Regions from separate parts of the Homo sapiens genome. Here all the other regions are linked to region 1. Evidence: promoter capture Hi-C in 16 types of primary human blood cells and fetal thymus (Javierre and others, 2016). All regions are on one chromosome and are shown on one strand. Each heading gives the region's core, a stretch centred on a gene start or on the middle of the fragment in contact. The rest is flanking DNA. Distances are from core to core; before and after follow the strand shown.

Region 1 (2,700 bases), core at 5-2,504:
CTGTGCTCAAAGGCAATATAGGACATTTTAAGGCGTCTTTTAAAAGTTAGCCCTTGAAATCAGAATAGCATAGGGATTTTAAAGACTGGAATCTGTGGTCAAACTGCTTGGGTCAAAACACAGGCTCTACCACTGACAGCTGGATTTTGGGCAAGCCGCCTAAGTTATCTGTGACTTTAAGTTTCCTCACCTGTAAAATGGGAATTATAATAGCACCCACCTCACCGCATTGTCAGAAAAGTAAACGACAGAAATCAACATAAAGCATTTTAGGTAGTAAGCTCTCCATAAATGCTATCAATATTCAAAGGTATGTGTTCGAGAGATCAAATCTATTAAATATACATATCAGCTTTGATCAATTGAAATCTCGGAAATTTCATAATTGCATCTTACTCCCCCTTTCCACACATCATGCGGCATCAACCTTCCACATGATGTGGAAATTACATACTTTCATTCATCCGTTTGAGAGCTTGTCATATATGGCAAGAAAGAAGAAAGATGCCTTTTTCGTGACTGTTGCTCCTTCAGAACTTCAAAACACTGTCACGTACACAATAGGTTGGAGCTGCCCTCAAAATGACAGCTCACAGCTTTGCTGGGCCCGCAGAGGTGCCCAGGCGGCTCTGCCCGGAAGGGGTTCACCCCAATAACCGGAGAATCTCCGGTCGCCACAGCCAAGCACAGCGCACGCCCGGGAACCCCAAGGAACACAAGAGAACTCTGAAATGGGGAAGGACCCTGAGTTGTGGAGAAAGAGCGGGAGGAAGGGTCACGGAGGGTCCGGAGCCACACTCGGATCAGGCGCGTCCACGCTGACAAGCCCGGGACCAGGTGCCGGCGATAGGCAGCGCCGTCCTGGACAGTCCCTTCCCTTTCCCCTACCCGTCCCCTCCCCGGCGAGCACCGAAGCCAACTCGGGTCCCGCGCCAGAATTGCCCCCCGGCGCCCCCTCACCTAAAGGCGGGTCCTTCCTTAGGAGCCCTGCCCTGGGCAGACGCCGCCGCGGAGCTGCCGCTGCTGCCCCTTTTGTTGAAGAGCTTCTGGAGCAGGGTCGGGGCCATGATGCCGCCGCCGCAGCTCCGGCCGTGGCGCTCGGGGGGCCGGCGGCTCAGCGCGCAGCCGGGGGCGGCGGCCGCGGTGGCGGGGCCATCGCGGCGGCGCGGCCGCCCAGCCTTGCGGGAGCGCGGGGCCGCTGCGACTGAGTAACTCTGCTCGGCGCCGGAGCCGCCGGCTGCCGGTCATATGACTGAGCCGGCCCGCCACCGCCTCGCGCGCTGACAGTTATCTCCTGCGGGAGGAGCCCGCAGCCCCACGGCGGCGGCGGCGGCGCGGGAGGAGCGCGGCGGCCCCGGCGGCGGCCATTGGCCCGGCGGCCGCCCGCCCCGGGCTCACGTAACCCCGGCGGGAGGCGGGAGGTGGGAGGTGCGGCCAGGAGCGGGCGGGCGGCCCAGTACTCCGGGCACGCGGGGGACGCGGACGGGGGCAGGCGCGGCACTTAAAGGGGCCCGAGGGGCGAGGGCGGCCGCCGGGGCGCAGCTCCGCGAGTGGCGTGGGGTTCCCACGGAGCCTGGGTTCTTTCGCACAGCGAGCATGCAGCTAGGCCGATCTTTGTTCTTTAGAGACAAAGCCCCTGAACTTGGGTCCTCGCTTTGTTCAGGTACAAGAGCCCGTTCACAGAAGGCGTATGCTAGGGGGGAAGGCTTGGTACGCGCGGTGGCCGCTTCGGTGGGCTGTGATTTGAATCACATAGCACCCAAGGTTTTGTCAGGTTTCCTCCATGTCCAAATTCGATTCCTCCAGGCTTTCACAAAATTTAAACTGTTTATCCAAATCATTTGTTCTGTTTGGCGTCTTGGGCCACCATACCATGGTTATATAAGAAGTTGCATTTGAAATATTAAGTCCCCCCTTTAAAACATACACACACACACACACACACACACACACACACACACACAGAACTCACTACATAGATTTAGAAACTTAAGATATTTTATAGCAAGGGATTGTTTTTCCTAATACATATTTAACAGTCAATCAAGGCATATCAGCAGCAGATATTTGGTTTGAGGAAGGGAGGAGTTCATGTGTTTGAGTCCGCTTTCCTGCCCTGTCCCACCCCAGTCCCCTTTGGAATTTAATCCTTGGTGGTGCAGGGCTCTAAACAGCCAGTGTAGGACACGTTACCAGACTCAAAGCAACTTCTTAATCTATGTTTTAGAGCGTTGGGCTTCACGAATTTTTCCGATGATGGGAAATAGAGATAAAGTTAGTAAGACCCCAACCATGCCTCTTCTAGCTTCTCCATGAGTAGTGAACAGTGACTCACCTGGGCTCTCTTACACTTGTTGAGAGGAGGACTCTTGGAGACTCAAAAAGGAAAATATATTTCCAAAAACATAAGTAATCAAAAGAACCTATTCTGGGCCTATTTTACTTTGCATTTTCTTTTTTTAATTGTGTTAGTTTCTGGACTTGGTTGGGAACTAGCTGTGAATAATGTGCTGAAATTTCACAAAGGTAAGAGAAAGGTGGTAGAAATGGAAACTTAGTCATTTGTTTCCTTCGGACTTTTACTGTTAAAATGGTGGATTAAGTGTTTATCCTGATGAGCAATCATCCTTTTGCACAATTGAGTGTACACAGAACCCTAATTTGCAACTTTGCTATTTCTGTTTGCTGAAGGCCTTTACC
Region 2 (2,700 bases), core at 112-2,611, 540 kb before region 1:
GATGTAAACTGTAGATACAACTTCTTACTATTCATAGGACTGCTTTTGGATCAAATAAGGGAGAAAGCAAGCCAGTCTCAAGCTAGATCAAAAGTCCCTTCCTCAAGGGGATACTTTCTTCATCTTAGAACTTGTACACCTTCTACCTCTCCCCATAGCAGCAATGAACGCTGCACGCAATTTATATTTGTGGAATTTGACCAAAAAACCCCACAAAATTCTGTTAAACACCACACTCTCCTTATATATTTGTAAAATAGTATCTTAGACTAACTGCACAAATACATTCTGGTCAACTGGTTCATACACCAATTATAAAAATAGTGATCCTATATTGAATGACTATCATATGTGTCTAGCACTAAAGTTGATGTTTTAAAACATAATAATCTTCATATCAATTCAGCAAGTTAGTATTACTAACCCTAGTTTACAGAGGAGAAAATGTCAAGGACATTAAATAAGTTGTTCAATGTAAGCAAAACAAAACACAGTAACTGTGCTAGGACTCAAAATCAGGTGTGACCAACCAAGAAATACTAAGTACTCTGCACTTTGCTCGACATTCTCAATAGTCTTATAAAAAAAAATTGAAATATAATACAGTAATAAAATGTTTTCCACTTTGCTAAGTCATAAAAGATAAAAAGTTTAAATACATATTTGCCTATGAACATAACACTTATTGTTTTCTAGCTTCCTCCAAATAACAACACTACTAAGACTCACGCATGTCTTTAAACCCTTTTTTTCTAAATAAAGACACTAAAACAGACGCTTTATATTTAAAAGCTTATCTGGATATATTTGTTTCAGGAACAAGGAGAAAGGTTTACATAGTTATGTTAGCCAAATAACTCCTGTCTTAAATTAATTTATCTTATACAGGTACTGACTAACATAGATTTTGTTGTCCATTAATATTTAAATAGTGATATTCTTTTAAAAACAATATTCTCAGATCAATGCTGAAAGCTCCACTATTTAAATCAAAAGGGACTAAATACATTCTGCTATTGTGAACACAGTTCTTAAAACCAATTTATTTTACATTTTTTAAAAAAAATCAAGAAAATTCACAAACAAAAAAATTTTTATGCCATAAAGCTCTACTGAAGTATTAATTTAACTAAAATAAAAATCAAATACTGCATGTTTTATCAGTAAGCACTTTAAAATCACTTGCCAAAAAAGTTTTGCTTATTAAAAGCATATATATGCCTAAAAGAGAAGAACAATTTTTTAAAGCTCTTAATGTAAATCGTTAGGTTGCTTCCCCAAAATTACAATCCTACGAGGAGTATATAAAAATGTCTATAAATGCTTATTTTAAGTAAGAAAATCTGTGCTAATTTGATAGGCAGAATAATTTCATATTTAAGTCCTTATATGCTCAATTACTATTATGTTTCAAATACTTAAGGTGTAGACATTTGCATTTTCGTTTCTGTAAGTTACCAACTACTGTCCTTTGAACATTTTAACATTGTGAGCTGAGTATTTTTCTTATTTGTGTAAATCAGTTATATTCTGACTTTAAATCTTCTTATCAATTGATGTTCTAATTACAAAATGTTTTGATCCTTTATTAAAACATTGTTTGCTAACTCTTTAGTTTATCAGGAATTTATTTTAATTATGATACAAAATAAGAATACAAAATGATTCCCCAACCCCAAAGACCATTTATTGAATGATCCATCACTTTCTTTATTGATTTGTGAAGTTTCCTCTATTACATATTACATCCTTACACATGAGTTCAATTTTGCTTGAACTCTCTGTTCTATTGATCTATCTATTTTGTACAACTATTTCCGGTTTGCCTAAGCCACTCGCTCTGATCCTGATGGCCATACCATTTAACCAGGACCTTATCATGGCTGGAAATGGCATTGTCTCGTATTACTAACTTAGGCATTAAAGCTTTCAATCACCAACAACCTTCTATTCTTTCAACCTGCCCCCATCTGCTTCTAAGGTAACCCTTTTTCAACTTAAGAAGGATCTTCACTCAAGACTCTACTACCTTCTGTGTCTAGTGTTCACACCTGTCTTCCTTTCATATCCAGCTTATATTCCCTAGTCTATTATTTCAATTACATTCATTCAACACATCTTTACTGAATGCCTAAAATTTCCTGGCACTGTGCTAGGCTCTAGGGGAAAAAATAGAGACAAGAGAGACAAGTTCCCTGCCTTCTTGAAGGTGTCATTCTTCTAGGCAGAGAGATAACATAAAAATTAATAATTGGTTCAATTGGCGTCTAGGAAGGAAATAAAAAGATTAGGCAGGAAAGGAATCAAAATGGAGGACTTCCTTTACAGAGGATTATAAAGGAACAACTCTGAGGAGATGACACTTGAAAACAAAGGCTGAAAAGGATCAAGCTAGGAGAAAACATTCCAGGCAGAAGGCATACAAAAGCTATGATCTGCAGTTAGAAAACGCTTGCCTTGTTGCTCGACCTGTCTTTGTATTACACTCACTTAACAAACTTCAGTCCTGGGTGAAGTCAAATCCTTGCTTTCTTTGTGCTTACTGTGGAGAAAGCTACTTAACAGAGCAGAGGGAAATCACTTTATATTTGAGGGCACTAACTCAATTGAATCTCCATTTCTCTGGTCAATTTGTTCTCCTACTCTCTGCAACTATTATTTCAAAACTTCTCTCTCCTTAAAACTCTCTACCTGCCAACC
Region 3 (2,700 bases), core at 101-2,600, 520 kb before region 1:
GAAACTTTATGTACTGTGTGGCTTCTCAAATACTGCCTAAGGTACAGTAAGTATTTAATAAGCAAATTGTCTGGTCAGGCATGGTGGCTCATGCCTGTAATCCCAGCACTTTGGAAGGTTGAGGTGGGAGGATAGCTTGAGTCCAGGGGTTTGGGACCAGCCTGGGCAACATGGCAAAACCCTGTCTCTACAAGAAATACAAAAATTAGCCGGGTGTGATGACACACGTCTGTAGTCCCAGCTACTAAGGAGGCTGAGGTGGGAGGATTGCTTGAGCCTAGGAAGTCAAGTGAACTGTGATTGCGCCACTGCACTCCAGCCTGGATGGCAGAGTGAAACCTTGTCTCAAAAAATGATAAAAATAATTACTAATCTCCACCCAATCCTCACACACACAGATGTATATATTCACACATACACAGGAAACTACCTTGATTTTAAATGACATCTCAGATCCTACCTCTAAAAATTTGCTTCTAGATTTTATGCAACAACCACCACCACAGGTACTCCTTTTCTAGTGACGGGTATTACAACTGAGCTAGACAATAATCTTTAAGACAAAAAATAATTATGTTACCCTTCTTAAGTTGCTAACAAAAACACTGGGTATTCATGTTATGTGTCTATCAATTTTTCCTTTTACTTCTGTGACAAAGATATCCATGTTAGGATTTATTTCTAAGGATTTCAATGATAAGAATTTAATTTCACATTTATTTTCAAAGGCTTCATGTGTCAACCCTGGCATGCCAGGTAATCTCATTGCTTTGGCTGTCGGGAGGGCACTATACAAGAACTGACTGAACATTTGTGGTGCATTACTCACTGTCTAGGGCCAGCAGGAATATATACTCATAAACTGCAAGAAGTCTAATAGATTTTTCTCTTTTCCTTCATCTTTTTTTTTTTTGTAAACCTTAGACACATGCCATTAAATGAATAGTCTGAATGACTATGACATCGTCAAGCACACATTACCTAAAAGAGACCCCCTCACTTCTGCCAATGCTCCAGCACTTTTCATGACTTTCTCAGTCACCTGCCATGATTGATTTACATCACCAGTTGAGTAACTCTCTTAGAAAGTACATTCTTCCCAAATTAATACAAACTTTTAATATTCTATTGCTGTATTAAGCTGTGGTTTACCTTCCTCAACTTCAGCTACTTTCTCTAAATGTTTCTGTTAAGTGTGTATGTGTATGCATACTGATGTATCATCCTAGGTTGAAATCAGGGAAACAGAGTAGCTTTCATTAAAATCCATTCAGAGAACCTGATGACTGGTTAAATAAAATCTGTGGTGTCAGTGCACATGCATGCACATACACAAAAGCAGGAATACTTTGAAAATGCCTTTAGATACAAAAAGTTTAACTTCCATAACCTTGAAGTTACACAGCCTCAATTCACCTTAGGAAAACCCAGAACTTAAAAAATTGACCAAGCTCCCACTATGTGTGACAGCACTCTGAGAGGGGATTTACAAATATGAACCCACTTCACTGTGGTGCCACTGTACTACCACTGTCCTATCTTGCTTCTTGTAACACCCTCTTCTTCATGTCGCAGCCAGAAGTAAACTTTTAAAACACGATAGGAAAATACACACCTGATCCTGTCACTCCCCTGCCTAAAATGTTTTAGTGGCTTCTCTTTCCCTTTGGAAAAAGTTATATTCCTAACCACTGCACCCCACTGTCTTCTCCTTTTGATCTTCTCACACTCACTTCTCTTCCCCTCAGCCTCTGTACTAAATATATAAATCTATTTCTGGTTATTTTAAATACAGCGAGATACTCTGTATCTCCTCCTGGGTCTTCATTGTTCCCTCTTCCGGGAAGAACACTCTCACCCCTGGCCTGGCTAATTCTCTGAACCCTCCTCCTGAAGTTAGAAATTCTTGTAAGATGTTCCTGTGATACCCAGAATGCTGCCTGTCACAGAACTTAAATACCTTTACAGTAGCTGCTGATTTAATAATCCAATGCCCTCTCTAGGTGTGTCTTTTTCATCACTCTTTTCCTAGCTTCTCATATAGTACCTAAGGTATAGTAAGTATTTAATGAGCAGATCATTGAACTGGTAACCCTACCTAGTTTAAAGTAGAAGATATTGAGGCTGAGAGAAATTGAACAGGGACTGTTTGATCCCAATGTTCTTTTCCTTACCAGCTCTATAGTCACCCCCTTCCATCAGCAATTATAGGTAAGATCACCAGAATAAAACTAAAACACAATGAACAGCAACTGTAGTTATGCAATAAATTTAGTTTAGCCTTCCTGGAAGCCAGCATCAAAAAAATTAATGACAAAACTTCTGAACTCAACATATTTTTAACTTCCTATCATAGATCTCAACAAGAAGCCTGTCAGATGAAGATATATAAAGTTACTCAGAACCATAAGATTCATTCATCTACTTAATTATCCAACAAGTATTTACTGACATCCTGTAACAAGCCGGTCACTGTTATAGGAACTAGTGATATGGCAATGACTAGGATTAGCAAAATCCCTGCTCCCTGAAACTTACACCCTTAAAGAGAGGAGGGGCTTGAGGGGAGAAGGGGAAAGGAGGAATATGTAACAATAAAAAATTTTAAAAAAAGATTTCAGCTATCAGTAAGTACTGTAGAGACAATACCACAAGAAGAGCATGTAATAGATGGTGATGGCTGGGAATGGAGAGGATACT
Region 4 (2,700 bases), core at 28-2,527, 550 kb after region 1:
CATTTGAGAAGATGGGAGAAGACATTATGTTTTGGTGGTGCCTCCAGTAGTTTCAGCAGGAGCAGTCGGTCAGGCAGAGGCAATTCAGCAGTATTGTGTGGGCTTCAGGGTTATGGGTGACACAACCTTCCTTCTTTTGCTCAACTGGGTCTTGCAAACAATTTCCTGTGTTAAATCCTCTCCTGTTTAAAATACCTGGAGAGGTTTTGTATACAGACTGATAGACACTTTGTATATCATATAAAGAAAATGTAAGACTAGAAATTAACCAACCTTTAAAAATTAGACTATACAGAGGATAGAAGCAATAATTTTAATTTTAAAAAGAAAAGCAATATCCTAAACGAATGCAACCCTATTTCAAGTGCATGAAACATGGACCATGAAGCTCCAAGTTTATTCAGTGAATACCCTTCAGAACAAACTGATTTAACTGAGTTAAAATAATGAAATGACATATTCCAGAAATTCCTCTTAGCAGAGAAACATAGAAGGGAGCCTAGATGCACTACGGGAAGAGTTCTTGAATTTCCCTGCTACAGACCAAGTTCAAATTGAGCTACAGGGTTCCTCAGGTGCACTGCCTACTGTAACATAAAGTTGGGCAACAAATACCCAACAGGGAAACAGTAATTGAACATAAATGTTATTAATAAAATAATTGTAATGGCAACTAATATGTAGAGCATTAACCATGTAATTAGCACTATATGAAGCACTAAACATATTTTATTTCATTTAACCCTCAAAATACTTTATGAGGTTGGTGCTATTATTATCCCTCTACAAATGAAGAAACCAAAGCTTGGAGAACTGAAGTTATTTGCCCATGGCCACATAGGTGGAAGTGGTAGAACATGAATAATTGATTTGCAATTTTAGAGAATGTACTTTTTCTAAATAAAGAAGAAATATGGAGGAAAACAATGCCTGATAGACTGGGTAAACTGGCCTTCAATTGTCATTAAGTCAAAACTAAGCCATCCTATGTTACAATTTTGGTGTGTAAAGAAATTGTTTTTGAGAGAGCTATTCAGAGCTAGAATTCTGTGTGAATTATACAAAATACATAAAATTGCCTCTAACCAAAAAAAGTCAGGAATCTGCTATTTTAGAATAATTTATGTTATCTTTTTCTCCAATTGGCCTGGGACTACTCTCTAAGGCAACATTTCAATGACAAAGAGATTGTTCCTGAATGTGCCTGGGGAAAAGCCATCATTGCTGAAGGAAGGCAAATATACTGTTCTTTCCCTAAGAATAAAAAAGTACTAAAATCTTTCTAGGCAGTACTATCCATTATGTGAAGAACTGACAGGGAATATAAATGGAATCCAGAGGGGAAAGAAGACTGAATTTAAGGTGACCCAGTTCCTGTTAAGTTTTATGGACTGAACACTGCCATACAGAGATTCAAAGTCATTTTCACCCTTATTCGTAGAGTGCATACAGCTAGACACAGATGCAACCAAACATGGGCATTCAAAAGAGTATGTGTTCTCACAGGTGAAAGAGGAGCTGTCTAGCTAGGTTGAGAAGAGTGAGTGAGGAGACAGGGGAAGTGGAAACTAGGTGAGATAGGAAGTGAGTAGTACATAGAAGAGAGAATCAGTGACTACTCCAGGGGCATCAGGAAGCCAGCAGAATGCTTTTTCTGAATAGCATGTTTTAGTTTGCAAAATATATGATTCTCATTGATAAGCTATGTGTTATGATTTTCTACATATTATAGATGATAAAACTAAGCTTAAGAGCAGTTAAATGATTTTCCAGGCTCTCAGAGTTTTGGAGAGCTAAAGCTGGGGCTGCCCCTGCCCCCAAATCTGGCACTTTTTGTCCTCTAAAACCAGTCATTGTAAATGAAGAATCTGAGGAACAAGCATGTGGATTTTACGAAATGTAGGTTTAAAAAATGTAAACATAGCAGGATCCTTAAAAAAGCACTCTCCATGTTTTGAAGAACAGCAAAATCACTAGAAATGACTGTGTACCTTACTACTGATAGCCCAGCTCCAATGTAATTTAGCAGCGGATTTGATACTTCTTCTGCATCCAATCCAAACCAGCCAAACCTGAAAATCCAGAAAGTCACATCAAATTAAATATTGTTAAGATGTTTCACCATAATGTTTAAGGGCATGGACTAGGGGCCAGATTCCTGGGTTCAAATGCTAGCTCTCTCACTTATTAGCTGTGACTTTGGGAAAGTTAATTATCTTCACTGTGCCTCAATTTCCAATTTTTTTAAATTAAAAAAAAATTTTTTTTTGAGATGGAGGCTTGCTCTGTCATCCAGGCTGGAGTACAGTGGTATGATCTTGGCTCACTGCAACCTCTGCCTCCTGAATTCAACCTATTCTCCTGCCTCAGCCTCCCAAGTAGCTGGGACTACAGGTGCCTGTTACCACGCCTGGCTAATTTTTGTATTTTTAGTAGAGACAGGGTTTCACTGGTCTTGAATTCCTGAAATCAAGCGATCCACCCACCTCGATCTCCCAAAGTGCTGAGATTATAGGCGTTAGCCAACGTGCCCAGCCTCCCATGTTTAAAATGGGATAATAATTATACCTACCTTATAAGTTTGTTACAAAGATTAAATGAGTTAGTATACATAAAAGTACTTGTGAGTGTCTCTTTCCTAAGACTAAAAAAGAAGTAGGAAAAAGTAGTTCACCTGACTCATGGAAGGTTAATTAATTG

Evidence for each region. The method cuts DNA at HindIII sites, captures the fragments that hold promoters and counts their contacts. A CHiCAGO score of 5 or more calls a contact.
Region 2: a fragment that was not itself captured here is called in contact with the fragment with the promoter of FNIP2 in region 1 in 6 of 17 cell types (M2 macrophages, erythroblasts, megakaryocytes and 3 more); the score reaches 8.7 in M2 macrophages.
Region 3: a fragment that was not itself captured here is called in contact with the fragment with the promoter of FNIP2 in region 1 in 4 of 17 cell types (total B cells, erythroblasts, activated CD4 T cells and 1 more); the score reaches 7.8 in total B cells.
Region 4: a contact is called between a fragment that was not itself captured here and the fragment with the promoter of FNIP2 in region 1, in 1 of 17 cell types (M2 macrophages). The highest score is 5.4, in M2 macrophages.

The regions. Positions count from the first base shown.
Region 1 is chr4:158,767,580-158,770,279 of GRCh38, reverse strand. It overlaps FNIP2 (folliculin interacting protein 2), which reads right to left and starts at 1,254. Exons shown (of 17, transcript NM_020840.3): 1 at 961-1,254. The coding sequence starts at 1,067. RefSeq lists an enhancer at 609-1,346 and a silencer at 1,304-1,513. The HindIII fragment of the contact is 6,862 bases long and covers 1-2,700 here.
Region 2 is chr4:159,308,879-159,311,578 of GRCh38, reverse strand. The region is part of intron 8 of RAPGEF2 (Rap guanine nucleotide exchange factor 2); the gene reads right to left. Among named protein-coding and RNA genes, the nearest start is that of MIR3688-1, 180 kb to the right of the region's middle. The HindIII fragment of the contact is 1,134 bases long and covers 795-1,928 here.
Region 3 is chr4:159,288,968-159,291,667 of GRCh38, reverse strand. All of the region lies in intron 7 of RAPGEF2 (Rap guanine nucleotide exchange factor 2), which reads right to left. Among named protein-coding and RNA genes, the nearest start is that of MIR3688-1, 160 kb to the right of the region's middle. The HindIII fragment of the contact is 2,906 bases long and covers 1-2,700 here.
Region 4 is chr4:158,218,682-158,221,381 of GRCh38, reverse strand. TMEM144 (transmembrane protein 144) reads right to left here. Exons shown (of 13, transcript NM_018342.5): 6 at 1,992-2,072. Among named protein-coding and RNA genes, the nearest start is that of TMEM144, 9.5 kb to the right of the region's middle. The HindIII fragment of the contact is 942 bases long and covers 807-1,748 here.